Linked DNA regions of Homo sapiens: regions 1, 3 and 4 are each linked to region 2. The links are contacts of gene promoters, found by promoter capture Hi-C in human tissues and cell types (Jung and others, 2019). All regions are on one chromosome and are shown on one strand. Each heading gives the region's core, a stretch centred on a gene start or on the middle of the fragment in contact. The rest is flanking DNA. Distances are from core to core; before and after follow the strand shown.

What was found. The method cuts DNA at HindIII sites, captures the fragments that hold promoters and counts their contacts. A contact is called where the count stands out against the background at its distance.
Region 1: a contact is called between a fragment that was not itself captured here and the fragment with the promoter of IRX1 in region 2, in 1 of the 25 tissues and cell types used here (lymphoblastoid cells).
Region 3: a fragment that was not itself captured here is called in contact with the fragment with the promoter of IRX1 in region 2 in 1 of the 25 tissues and cell types used here (H1 embryonic stem cells).
Region 4: a contact is called between a fragment that was not itself captured here and the fragment with the promoter of IRX1 in region 2, in 2 of the 25 tissues and cell types used here (H1 embryonic stem cells and dorsolateral prefrontal cortex).

The regions. Positions count from the first base shown.
Region 1 is chr5:3,305,010-3,308,316 of GRCh38, forward strand. No RefSeq gene overlaps it. Among named protein-coding and RNA genes, the nearest start is that of LINC01377, 130 kb to the left of the region's middle. The HindIII fragment of the contact is 5,203 bases long and covers 1-3,307 here.
Region 2 is chr5:3,594,572-3,597,990 of GRCh38, forward strand. It overlaps IRX1 (iroquois homeobox 1), which reads left to right and starts at 1,261. Exons shown (of 4, transcript NM_024337.4): 1 at 1,261-1,810. The coding sequence starts at 1,535. RefSeq lists a silencer at 964-1,258. The HindIII fragment of the contact is 23,247 bases long and covers 1-3,419 here.
Region 3 is chr5:3,898,879-3,902,308 of GRCh38, forward strand. No RefSeq gene overlaps it. Among named protein-coding and RNA genes, the nearest start is that of LINC02063, 240 kb to the right of the region's middle. The HindIII fragment of the contact is 3,030 bases long and covers 1-2,968 here.
Region 4 is chr5:3,982,591-3,985,770 of GRCh38, forward strand. No RefSeq gene overlaps it. Among named protein-coding and RNA genes, the nearest start is that of LINC02063, 150 kb to the right of the region's middle. The HindIII fragment of the contact is 4,989 bases long and covers 1-3,180 here.

The DNA of each region.
Region 1 (3,307 bases), core at 521-3,020, 290 kb before region 2:
AGCTAATCTAGTCTAGGTTATTTGAAGCTCTGCTAAAATACTTTAAGTCTCTAAAGTTACTAGGGTTGCCTCCCGAGTAATCTAAGTCCCAGAGGTGAATTCTGGCACTTTCTAGGGATTTAGAGTCTTGTTATAAAAGAGAGTCAACCAACAGGGTGATCAATGAACTTTTGAATCTTATCCAATGACGTCCATTTGATGCTTATCATTAACTTCACCGAGAAATACACCAAGCATTGTGGGGGAATACGAATGAATTCTAAAACATGGTATATTGTACAGAATTCACAACTCAACAGTATATTTATGATTTAGATAAGGAGATAAGACTTAAGCAAATAAATCAGTGTGATAAAAAACCAAAATGAGATTAAAACAAACAAACCTGAGCGAGTGGTGTGCCCTGGTCCAGGAGACACAGGTGGAAGAGTCAGGACAAACATCTCGAAGGAGCTGGAGATTAACGGGACGTAGGGGTGATTTCACTAGCGTTGGGGCAGCGGTCCTCGGGCGCTGGGGCGAGCAGGAGTAACCGCACGGGTGTGAGGACAGGCACGGAGCGGCCCAGGCCGCGTTTCCCTGGAGGAGAGTGTGGGTGAGGGGCTGGGGGTGGGCAGGGAACCCGTGCACGCTGCGCCAGAATCCCAGGTTTCTCCTGGAGCCGCTGCAGGCCAGGACAGCTGCCGTGATGGGGGTGCTTTAGAAAGGTTCGTTTGGCGGCGGTGAGCAAGTGGAAGGTCATCTTGACTCTCCTTGGAAAATCGCCGTCCCCAGAGCCGCACTCTGAGCCTGCACGTGTTCCCCAGCGTCTGCCGCCCGTGCTTCTCCTGGTTCAGAAGGACGCGGAGCTCTCCCGCAGTGGCCGAGGCTCCCGCAGCGGGGGAGCGGAGATATTCATTTGCCTATTTCCAGCACTGCTATCTCAGTGGTATCTGCGCTCACAGAACAAGTGCCCATTGGCTGCCTTTTGCCCACCCGTGCAGATAAATCTCCCAGTTTATCTCCGCACACACAGGTGCCAAGTATTCACGAGGCTCCAGACCAGAGGCCCTTCTTAATTGCCCGCCATCAGGGTGCTCCCAGGGAGGCTTCCACAGCAAGGATAGCACCTGCCGCCTGCACATAGAGTCTTCGAATTCTACAGGGGTCGCTCCTGTCTTAGATCTTCTGGGAGCCTCGGAGTTACTGACTGAGGGCTGGGGAGAGACCAACTGGACCCACAGCAGCTCTGGGGGATCCCCAATCGGGGGTTCTGGCAGAGAACGAGCCCGGCCTGCTTCAGTAGCATGGAGCTGGGGGTCCAGAACGCTGCCCACTCGCAGGTCCCGCTCCTCGGCTGTGAACACCACTCCAGTTCATGTGAAGGAACCACACTGGCCAGAGAATAGCCCTTAAAGGTTATTCTCTAAATACTGATGCTTGAAAGCACCACCCCAGGGCTGAGAAAAGCACCTCCCAACAGGAGACGTTTGTTCTCAGTGTGGACTCTGCGGGAGGCTTTGGGGTCCTGTAGAGGACAACGACCCGCTGGGAGCCTTGAGTTTGTGTGGAGGGCAACTATCGTGCAAGACCAATGCTCTTCTCTGACACCGGTCACCTGGCACCTGCAACGCCATGCAGCTCACCACACCCCGCAGTTCCTGGGCATCTGCAGGCTCCTGTGGTTCCAGGGGGCCTGGGGAGCTCAGCTCTGCCATGTCTTTGGGAAGAGGCCTTCTCCCCACAGGGCTGCAGTGACCCTCAGGCCCACACATCTTAGTCACTGGTACATGTGCAGGTTACTAAGTGGGCCCTGGGGGACACTGGCTGTTACAGGAGGTGTCCTGAGTGTCATGGTGAGATCTCCAGCATCCCATGCTTTTCGGGTTGTGTGGAGGGCCACAGGCCCTGGCATCTGACCTGGGGAAGGTGTCCCGGGTCCTGTGCCCTGCACAAGTGGTGTGTCCCTCAGCATGCTTGCTGAGAGGTAACACGTGACACAGGTAGCTACTGCCCACTCCTCCACGGCTTCCAGCAACACACCTAGAGACTGTCTCCTCTTTCCCAGCATTCCCCAACTGACGACATCGTCTTGCAAAATGTTGTTTAACCATCCTATGACTTAACTTTACAATTGGTAAAACCCCAGGCAGTACCCGCCATAGTTCCACCCCAGCACTCACTGCAGAGGCATCTGTTCCGATGTCTGGATCTGTTGTGGAAGTGCCTTGGGATCTTCACCTGCAGTGGTTATTGGTCACAGTCTATGGCACACATCTGCAGGTGGAGGAGGAGGGGGAGAAGGGGTTTGGCCCATGGTGGTGACTGGCACCTCGAATGTCAGGCTTGGCGTAGCCCAGTGGTGCAGCCCACAGGCACTTCAGAGACATGGAGGGTGAGGCAGCGGGAGCTTCGAGATGAGCCCTAAGATTTGCAGCCTCTGATGTCCAGGCCCAAGTACACCCTTCCCCTGGGGTGTGATCAGACCTGTGGATGGCATGGGATTTTGATCCCATGATGATTAGGTGACTTTGTAGGATGCATTCCTCAGCCAAGGCTGCCGTAACAACACAGCCGCACAGCCTGGGGCTTGGACGATGGGGATTTGTCGTCTCACGGTGCTGGAGCTGAAGCCAGAGGTGAGGGGTCAGCATGGCCATTCCCTCCTGAGGCCTCTCTCCTGGGCATGTAGGCAGTGTCTTCTCTCCGTGTCCTCTGTGTCTGTGTCCTGACCTCCTCTTCTGAATCTGCTCCAGGCCTCTGTTCCAGCTCCTGGTAGTCGCTGGCAACTCTTGCTGTTGCTGGGCTGGTGGAAGCATCACCCCAGTCTCTGCCTTCACTGTCATGGGGCGTTCTCCCTGTTTGTATGTCTGTCTCCAAATATGTCCTTTGTATAAGGACAGCAGCCATAGTGGATTAGAACCCACCCCACATGGCCTCAGATAACTGTAATATCCTCTTTAAAGGATCCACCTCCAAATCCACTCACATTCTGAGGTATTGAGGGTTAGGACGTCAGCATATAGATTTTGTGGGGAATATACAATTTAGCCCAGAACATATGACCAAGATGAAGACATTTTGCATTTATAATTAAGGTCACAAATCAGGTGAGCTTTGAATCAATTAAAAGGAAAATTACCTTTGGTGGGCCTGACCTAATCAGGTGAGAACCCTAGAAGAGGGTCTGGGCTCTTCTGCAAAGAGAATGACACTTCTCTGCAGGCCTTGAATAAGCACACAGCCATGCTGTGAGCTGCGTGTGGAAGAGGTGGCTTCTAGAGCTGAGGGCTTTAGTGTCGCAGACACAGGAGGCTGAGTTCCATCA
Region 2 (3,419 bases), core at 11-2,510:
GGGTGAACTCCCGGCCCCGTCTCTGCGTAGGAGGTGGTTCGCAAAGTGGCCCCGGGAGCCGGGACTGGTACCCGGTTCCCCACGGCACCGTCCGGAGCTCTCCAGCCACGAGGCGCAGAAGTGGCCTGCCAGCGCCTTCCCAGGCTCAGGGAGGCGAGGAGGCCCGTGCACTTGGCATCTTCTCCCGGGAGCCGCACGGCCAGGGCCGCGGCGAAACGGAGCCCATCTCAAGTGCGCCGCGCCTGGCCGCGTCCTGTAGCCCGACGAGGCTGAGGATGGAGAGGGGAGACGCAGGGAGAAGAGGGACGCGGGACTTGGACCCAAGAGGCCGCTCCGTTGCCGGTCTGGCGGCGGCGCCGACTCGGGTTCGCGCGTTCCACACAAGTTTCCTGTCTGCCTCTGCACACCTGGTGGACAAACCGGGCGTCCAGGCCACACCGTCTTCCCCCTTCGCGGGGGCGCGGGGGATGTTTCCCTCCGGCTGCCAGGGGGCTTTCTGGGTGAAGAGAAAGCCCCTCCCCCCGCGTCTCCCCCACCCCTCCCTCCGAGAACCCGCGGCGCCGACTGCGCCTGCTTCCCCCGAGCTGGCGACTTCTCCGCGGGATTTGCCCTCGCTCAAAGTTTGCACAATTGAAAGAGCCCGCAGAGCTCGGCCGCTCCCCGCTTCCCCAAGGGCGGCGAGGCCGGTCATTGGCAGACGATCGGTTACTACCCAGTAGGGGCCCACGGGAACCCGCATCTGGAGTCGGGGGTGTCACGCCACGCCGGTTCAGTGGCTCGCGGAGAGCGTCCGGGTGCACTTCTGCCAAAGATGTCCCCTGGAGGCCCCGGCCGCGCGGGACTCGGGGGAGAGGCCGCTCCCCCCTCGCTGTCACCAGCGTCCAGGCCGCCGGCCCCTTCCCCGCTGCCCAAACAGTAGAAAAGCAGGCGCCAAGTTGTTTTTGTTAAAAAGGGGACACACCTCGGCCGCGAAACTGCAAACCCGGTGTCAGACAGCTGTAAACCCGTGTCGACAGGTTGTCAGACAGCTGCGGGGGCTGGTCGGGAAGGAGCCCACGGCCTCCGGGCCCACACCCCGCCGCCCCGACGCGCGCGCCCACCGCGAGAGTAGCTGGCCGGGCCGGCACGGGGCACCACGTGCTCGCGGGAGGGGCGGGAGCGGCCGGCGAGGGCGGGCGGGAGGCAGGGAGGGGGCGGGAGGGGAGCCAGGGGCGGGGCCTGCGCTCAAGGGGATGCCAATCAAAGCATCAACTTCAAATTGTGTCTGAAAGCCCCGCCGCCGAGCGGAGGGCGGCCGCCGCAGTCGGCGCGCGATTGCGGATCCGGGCGCAGCCGGGAGCCGGGCGCCTGCGAGCACCGGGCAGAGGAGCCGCGACCGGCCTCCATCTCCCGGCCCGCCCGAGCGCGCCCGGCCGGCCGCCCGCTCCTCCCTAGACCCCTCGCGGCGCCCCCTGCAACCCCCTCCGGCCGGCCTCCGCCTCCCTCCCCGCGCCTTTAATACTCGCCCGCTGCGGCGGTCGCCGAGTCCGCGGACATGTCCTTCCCGCAGCTGGGCTACCCGCAGTACCTGAGCGCCGCGGGGCCGGGCGCCTACGGCGGCGAGCGCCCGGGGGTGCTGGCCGCGGCCGCTGCGGCGGCTGCCGCCGCCTCGTCGGGCCGACCGGGGGCCGCGGAGCTGGGCGGCGGGGCAGGCGCGGCTGCAGTCACCTCGGTGCTGGGCATGTACGCGGCGGCGGGGCCGTACGCGGGCGCGCCCAACTACAGCGCCTTCCTGCCCTACGCCGCGGATCTCAGCCTCTTCTCGCAGATGGTGAGTGCGCCCGGCCTCCCCCGCTTCTCCTCTGTCTCACCCGCGCCAGGGCAAGGGTGGCGGGTCGCCCGGGAGGGAGAGACTACGGGTGGACCTGGTCCGGAAGAGGAACTAGAAAGGTCCGGGGGCAGGTTCCCGGTGGCCGAGGCCGCGGCCCCCGGGGACGCAAGAGGGCTGGGAGGCCGGGCGGGTGACGGCTGGGCCATCTCGGCCTGGGAAAGCGGAAGGCCCGGGCCAGGGAGCGGGTAGCGAGTGAATTCAGAGAGGCCGCAGAAGCAGGCCCGTGGAGCGGTGCCCGCGCTGGAGGTCGGGGGCAAACTCGCCTGGCTCGGCCAGGGCGCCCGGGCAGGCCCACGGGGTTCCTGCAGGTCGGCCCGGCGTAGCGTAGCAGGACTTCCCTTCCTGGCCGCGGGTTCCACTCGCGCGGCCTCTTTAGTTTTCGAACCGAGTCTGGAAAACTTGGTTTTCTCCCTCTTTAGCAGCTCCGAGATAGTTGTATCCGAGTTTGCCAGACAGACCCCTTCTAAGCCTGGTAGAGTCAATCAAAATAATCTTAACAATAGAGGTCCAAAGGGATGGAGAGGTCTCTCCACGGCGTGAGTGCGAATTTGAGATTAAACAAAAATTAAGTTGCAGTAATGTGCTGGTGTCTGAAACGGTGTTTGATTTTACTTTTGTAAGTTGCCCAAGTTTTCATTTCATTTGCACAGAAAGAAAAGCACTTTTCTTCCTGCGTTACATAATGGAGGATTAAAGAAAACAGTGTCCCTTGGCTTAAAACAAATGGTGTCCTCTTAGTCTCCCGTCCCAGTGGGCGTTAGATGTCGGGGCAGGCGGCTGCACACTTAATTCTCCGCGGGGGCATTGGCCTGTCTGCCGGTCCAAATCATCCATTTTCCTTGGTCTGACTGCAAGGTCGGTGCTTAAACTTCGGACGGCTGGTGAATTGTGCGGCGGGCGCGGGGCCCTGGGAGGCAGCCCCCTCCTGGGTCGCTGCCCGCGGGATAAAGCAATTTCCAAGCACCCGCGATATCTCCCCGCTCCCCGCAGGAGAAGCGGGGAGTAAACGCCCCTCAAGTGTGCACAAGCAAAGAGCGGGTTTCCCTGTAACTTTTCTTGTAGTTTTGAAAGAAAGCGGCCCGGCTGCCTTTCAGGTCTCTTACTATCGAAAAAGATCAGCCCCCATTTTGTTCAGGCGGCGGGGAGGCCGGGACGCGATGAGAGATTTACAAGGTGTCCTTTCAAAAAGAATTCCCAGTGGAGACGAGGCTGAAACGTCTTCTTTACAATTACAACCAAAATAATTAGAAAAGCGCAAAGTACATTTTGGAACGATTGGGCAAAAACGAAATCTAGCCGCAGAAATGTTTTCTCTGCGGCCTCAGTCACCAAACTAATTAGTCCAAGAAATCTTCTGGTCTTTACAACTTTCTCAGAGTCCGGAACTCCCTTTGCTAACATTGCAACTAGACCATTTTTTCAGAGGATGAATATTTTTTACAGAAATTGCGAATGCAGTTGTGTGCCATTTGGGAACCCTGCCTGTGTTTGCGGGGGAGGGAGAGAGCTTCAGTGTGAGGACCTGCACCCTTTGTGGAGAGCTGGGGAA
Region 3 (3,430 bases), core at 204-2,703, 300 kb after region 2:
TTGCTGGATCTTAAAGCGCTGTCCCTATGTAGCTAAATCAAATAAGTCAGAACGTGGTCTCAAGTAAATAGCACTTAAGCATTTGGAGGAGAGACACAGCAGAAAAGATAACAAAGACACTCAACCAACAGCTGGAGTATCAGAGTCCCGAGGGTCGGCTTGAGTGCTCTCAGACGGCTTGTACCCTCCCCAATTACATGAGGAACCTGTGTAAAATAGCAACTAGTGCCAACTGAACTGTTCACCTCCCAAACACCAGTTTATGTAAACTCAATTACTTACATGACCAGAACCAGTGATTTCTGAAAAGAAGCCTCTCATCTACTCTACTAAGTTTTCTGCCAAAACACAGCATGAGTTTTGTTTTCTTTAAAAACTACCATTTCCATATAATTGGATTAACCCAGCATGTGACTATGGCCAGATGTCGAAGCTTCCTAGATCGTGTAGAACCCTCATGTGACCTCAGGCTTCTCTCACAAAATGCTGGGAGTTAAAATTCAGCCGCTGTCTAAAAACTGCCTTAATCGTCCTGAGGAAGTTATAACGGTTGGTTGGAAAACAAAAATTACCAAAGCCTCCATTAAAGTTTCAGATGTTCAAATAGCCATGGTCAGAGAGCAAGAAATGATTTGTTGATTAAGTGCTTGCAGCAACATTTCATTTTGCTAAGATGTACAGAACGAGAAAAATAAAGACATTTTCAAGCAAGTATTAAATTCAGAAAGAGTCTACTTATTTAATCTCTCAAGTCACCTTTTAAAATATTTTCACTGCTATGAATCCAGCATACTTCTTTTTTATTTCAGCACTGATCATCTATCTCCTCCTAAGACTCAGACTTTCAATTAAGTGAGCATTTACCTTCACATCCCTTGTAAGTTGGATTCCTAGGTATTTTATTCTCTTTGAAGCAATTGTGAATGGGAGCTCACTCATGATTTGGCTCTCTGTTTGTCTGTTGTTGGTGTATAAGAATGCTTGTGATTTTTGTACATTGATTTTGTATCCTGAGACTTTGCTGAAGTTGCTTATCAGCTTAAGGAGATTTTGGGCTGAGACAATGGGGTTTTCTAGATATACAATCATGTCATCTGGAAACAGGGACAATTTGACTTCCTCTTTTCCTAATTGAATACCCTTTATTTCCTTCTCCTGCCTAATTGCCCTGGCCAGAACTTCCAACACTATGTTGAATAGGAGTGGTGAGAGAGGGCATCCCTGTCTTGTGCCAGTTTTCAAAGAGAATGCTTCCAGTTTTTGCCCATTCAGTATGATATTGGCTGTGGGTTTGTCATAGATAGCTCTTATTACTTTGAAATACGTCCCATCAATACCTAATTTATTGAGAGTTTTTAGCATGAAGTTGTTGAATTTTGTCAAAGGCTTTTTCTGCATCTATTGAGATAATCATGTGGTTTTTGTCTTTGGCTCTGTTTATATGCTGGATTACATTTATTCATTTGCGTATATTGAACCAGCCTTGCATCCCAGGGATGAAGCCCACTTGATCATGGTGGAGAAGCTTTTTGATGTGCTGCTGGATTCGTTTTGCCAGTATTTTATTGAGGATTTTTGCATCAATGTTCATCAAGGATATTGGTCTAAAATTCTCTTTTTTGGTTGTGTCTCTGCCCGGCTTTGGTATCAGAATGATGCTGGCCTCATAAAATGAGTTAGGGAGGATTCCCTCTTTTTCTATTGATTGGAATAGTTTCAGAAGGAATGGTACCAGTTCCTCCTTGTACCTCTGGTAGAATTTGGCTGTGAATCCATCTGGTCCTGGACTCTTTTTGGTTGGTAAACTATTGATTATTGCCACAATTTCAGCTCCTGTTATTGGTCTATTCAGAGATTCAACTTCTTCCTGGTTTAGTCTTGGGAGAGTGTATGTGTTGAGGAATTTATCAATTTCTGCTAGATTTTCTAGTTTATTTGCGTAGAGGTGTTTGTAGTATTCTCTGATGGTAGTTTGTATTTCTGTGGGATCGGTGGTGATATCCCCTTTATCATTTTTTATTGTGTCTATTTGATTCTTCTCTCTTTTTTTCTTTATTAGCCTTGCTAGTGGTCTATCAATTTTGTTGATCCTTTCAAAAAACCAGCTCCTGGATTCATTAATTTTTTGAAGGGTTTTTTGTGTCTCTATTTCCTTCAGTTCTGCTCTGATTTTAGTTATTTCTTGCCTTCTGCTAGCTTTTGAATGTATTTGCTCTTGCTTTTCTAGTTCTTTTAATTGTGATGTTAGGGTGTCAATTTTGGATCTTTCCTGCTTTTTCTTGTGGGCATTTAGTGCTATAAATTTCCCTCTACACACTGCTTTGAATGTGTCCCAGAGATTCTGGTATGTTGTGTCTTTGTTCTCGTTGGTTTCAAAGAATGGAGGGATAGCATTGGGAGATATACCTAATGCTAGATGACGAGTTAGTGGGTGCAGCGCACCAGCATGGCACATGTATACATATGTAACTAACCTGCACAATGTGCACATGTACCCTAAAACTTAAAGTATAATAAAAAAAAAAGTGAGCATTTACCAAATGCTCCCACACGCTACAAATGGAGGGTGATGAAGATATGAGAGCATCATAGTCCTTGTCCTCAGAACTCATGCTATAATACAGGAAGTGGGAAAGCACATGGAATTGCAGGGCGCAGAGAAGAGGGACAAAGTTTTGTGAAAACAAAGAGAAATATTATTTTAAGTTGGGGGAGGGGGCGAAGGAACGTTTCATGGAAGAAGTGACATTGGAATTGGATCAGACTTCCAAACTTGAGGAAGTTGTTTTCGTCCTGGAAGGGGGCGGGTACTCTTTGCCTTTACAACATGGGTGGGTTTCTGTGAGGCTAGATTGTTTTCTTGCTTGGGATTTTGAGAACTAAATCTGGATTTTTGCCTGAAGATGGGATTATCATATTCTTTTTGGAACACAGATATTTGATACCCATACTGAGTAAGGGCAAGACACAAACTTCTAAGATGTAGCTCTAGGGGTGTTCTGAAGGGCTGCACACAGGCTTTTTGGAAGATATGGTAGCTTTTCTTCTTAGACGTTCTTCCTCATCCTGTATTTTGACCAACTCCCTGGCCCTCTTAGCAGGGCTGCCAACCTTAAGGCATCCCAAGAGCCACAGATGACCTTGGAAGACCTTGCTCAGAGGTGGTCCATGAGTGACTCACCCGCCTGGGGATAATTTCTTGGAGACTTTCTTGCACCTCTCATGCCTGACTACATTTTTCAAAAGTGTAATTTTTAGAAGGGCCAAGGGTAGCCAAATTTGGTCTGCTTGGTCAGCAGCCTTTTCCATGTGGCCATCTCCATGTCTGTCAATTTTGAGGTACCATAGCCCAGTGAGAATCAGGCCACTCCTTAATTTCTTGTTGCCATCTGTCTTAGTCCTTTTAGTGCTGCTATAACAGAATACCACC
Region 4 (3,180 bases), core at 265-2,764, 390 kb after region 2:
AAAAATAAAGAATTATTAAATTTTGTCACAGATTTTGCATCTTAAATAAATATCAATATATCATTATACCATCTTAGAAATTTTAAATAAGTTGGAGCCAAAAAAATCCAGTAATCATAAGCAAGACTTTCACAGGAATTCCTTACGTTATTTTTGGGGGCTTTTTTTTTGCCTCTAAAAATTTGGGGGAAAGTGCAGAATCCTGTTGGAAAATCACCATTCTAAAGGACACCTTCAGGAGCATCATGTAATGAGCTGTAATTAAATCTAATTACTCTCTATAGACCATAGATAATGTAATTTACAGGTCAAAACATGTTTTTAAAGGAGTCTGAAATGCACAGTCTGGACCTGGTCAACTCCCACGCAGTTGCCCTCTTGTTGTTTGAAAGGCCCCACCTTTGCTGAAGACGTAGGTACTTGAATTGCACTTTTTCCATCTATTATCCCTACTCAGCTTCACTGACCTCCATGTTTGAGAAAGCATTATTTTTCCTCCTCTCTAATCACCCATCATAGAATGGGCCTTCTGGCCATGAGTGTCATCTATGCTCAATATACACCACACTCTGAATTTAATTTTGTCCATGCAGTTTGTCTAGCAAAGCTGGAGGCAGTTCCTCAGCCAAAAAGGAGGCTCTATCCACACGTGGCAGTGGCCAGCTGGGGCCACTTGGAGCTTATCAGCTTTTTTTTTTTTTTTTTTCAGACGAAGTCTTACTCTGTCTCCAGGCTGCAGTGGCATGATCTCGGCTCACTGCAACCTCCGCCTCCCTGGTTCAAGCAATTCTCCTGGCTCAGCCTCCCAAGTAGCTGGTATTACAGGCACACGCCATTACACCCAGCTAATTTTTGTAGTTTTAGTAGAGACGGGGTTTCACCATGTTGTCCAGGATGGTCTTGATCTCCTGACCTCGTGATCCGCCCGCCTCAGACTCCCTAAGTGCTGGAATTAGAGGCGTGAGCCACCACGCCCGGCCTGAACTGATCAGCTTTTATAGCGTCCTTACACATTCTGTGTCTATGTCTCCTTCTGTCTCACTGGTGATATTTTCAAACATTCACATACTGTTCTCTAAGTAACACAACTGAGGCCACCTGGCAAGAGAGAGCTGCCTGTTCCTGGTCCCTTCCCACCACTAATCTGCATCCACACATGCTCTTCCTCCTAGTCCATAGCTTCCTTCCACAGCTTTTCTGCTCGGATAATTCTTCTGTTAGAAAGCCTCCCATCTTCACACCCCACTTTTGACCTGGGTAACCTCTATGTATCTGTCACTCAAGCCCCTTTCAGGAAGAGCTGTTCATGACCCTTGACTTGCGGGCTGCAGTGATGTGCTCCATTGAGTGCTTCGAAACAAAGCACTCATGCTTTCTGCTAACATTATCGGTACACAGAGCTTTCTCTTTGCAAAGGGCATACCACTCCACTCACTAAAAGAGATCACAAACCCTTAGACAATGAGGATTACTTCTTTCTCATCTGTGTGATCCTTCAGTGCCAAGCAAAGATGGTCCCGATGTTAATTTAATTATGCATCCTGAGGACAGAAGCTTATGTTTCCGGAATGAGTGAAGCATGGCGTGGTCCTCTTGAGGTGGAGGAAAATTGGAACTTTTGTAGTGCTTCGTTCTTGATTCCCCTTCTTCCTCAAGCTTAAGCTCTTTGTCTAATTTTTCTTCACCATTCAGAGCAAAGACCACATTCTCCAAAGAGTGTCTGATAGTCTCAACAAACACACACACACACACACACACACACACACACACACAATCTCTCTCTCTGTCTTTTACAAGAGCATCTAACTTGTCTTTCAGATTTATCTCACAATCAACTAAGGTGACTTCCTATATCGCTTTGCTCGGACATGAAACTTCCAGTGCTAAATTAGTCAAGTTTAAGGAAAACCAGGAGGACTGTGCACTCTCTAATTAACTAATTATTTTGTCTATAAAATTCTAAAATATTTAACAGATTTTCTTTTCACTGAAGTTGCCACTGTTGGATACTGAATTAATGTCATAAATTTGAGTGATTATTTTAATCTAATGCTTATATCTTCTAAATAAAACTGTGCCATTTGTGGCATTTAATGTTATTTTAATGTTTTATAATAGCCTCACAAATAGTTTTCAAAATATTTAATATGCACTGAGAAGACTGTATTTGGTTTTCCATGCCTTGATTCCATTTTGCTTGTATTTAGTGACTCCATGGCCACTTCAATATGGTGTTGCTTCTCCTGGTGAAGACAGCATGAGAATCTATTTGTTCTTACATAATCTATAGTTTATCAAGATGTGCTCAAAATGTGTTGGAGGTTAAATAAATAATTTCTGTAGAAGTAGTTTAATTTTGTGGAAAAGTTTCATTGTAAGATCAGCCCAAATTTACCTTTCCTCAAGAAGGGAGGGAGAAAAAACTGCACAGGACAAGCTGTGGCCCCAGGCAGTGAAGGACAAGGGGCACAGGAGGCTGGGGATTTGTTCTGGAGACCTTGGGATCTGAGTTCCTTAATGTCTCTAAGTCTGTTTCCTCATGCAAAAATGTGAATAATAAGGTTTTTCCTATGAACGGGAACTGTGCACATTCAGGTTAATGATCATGCAGGTTAATGATCTATCGGAACTCCTGCCCTATGAGAGAGGTGAGTGAATGGTGCTCCTTATTAAGTGTTCTCACCATCTGTCCTCTGATTTACTAGGACCTGGTGGGTGTAAAGGGCCTAGAAAAGGTTATTTTAATATCACAATTTAAAAAGTATACATTTGAATTGCTTTTGAGTTTTGGACACACTTAACTTGTAGCTCAAATCTTTAATTTTATATGCATTGAGAATACTATGACTATATTTTGCCAAGTTTATAAGAGTTATGAAGTCATTTTCAAATTGTTTATCTCTCTTTTAGTTTTTTATTCATGCTATCCATGCACATGAATTTTACAAAAAAAAAAAACTGGTTTGGGTAATACTTAGTTAACATCTTAAAACTCCAATAATTCTTCCTAAAGTAGTAAATACACAGTGTGCTTTATAAACAAGTTGAAAATTATTATGGTTCACTTTAGAAATAGGAATTTACAGACTGGCTGGGTTCAAATATTGACATAATGTGATCCTTTGCCCTTATTACCTGATTGAATTGAAGCAGATCCCAGGAGCTTCATGTAAGAAGAAG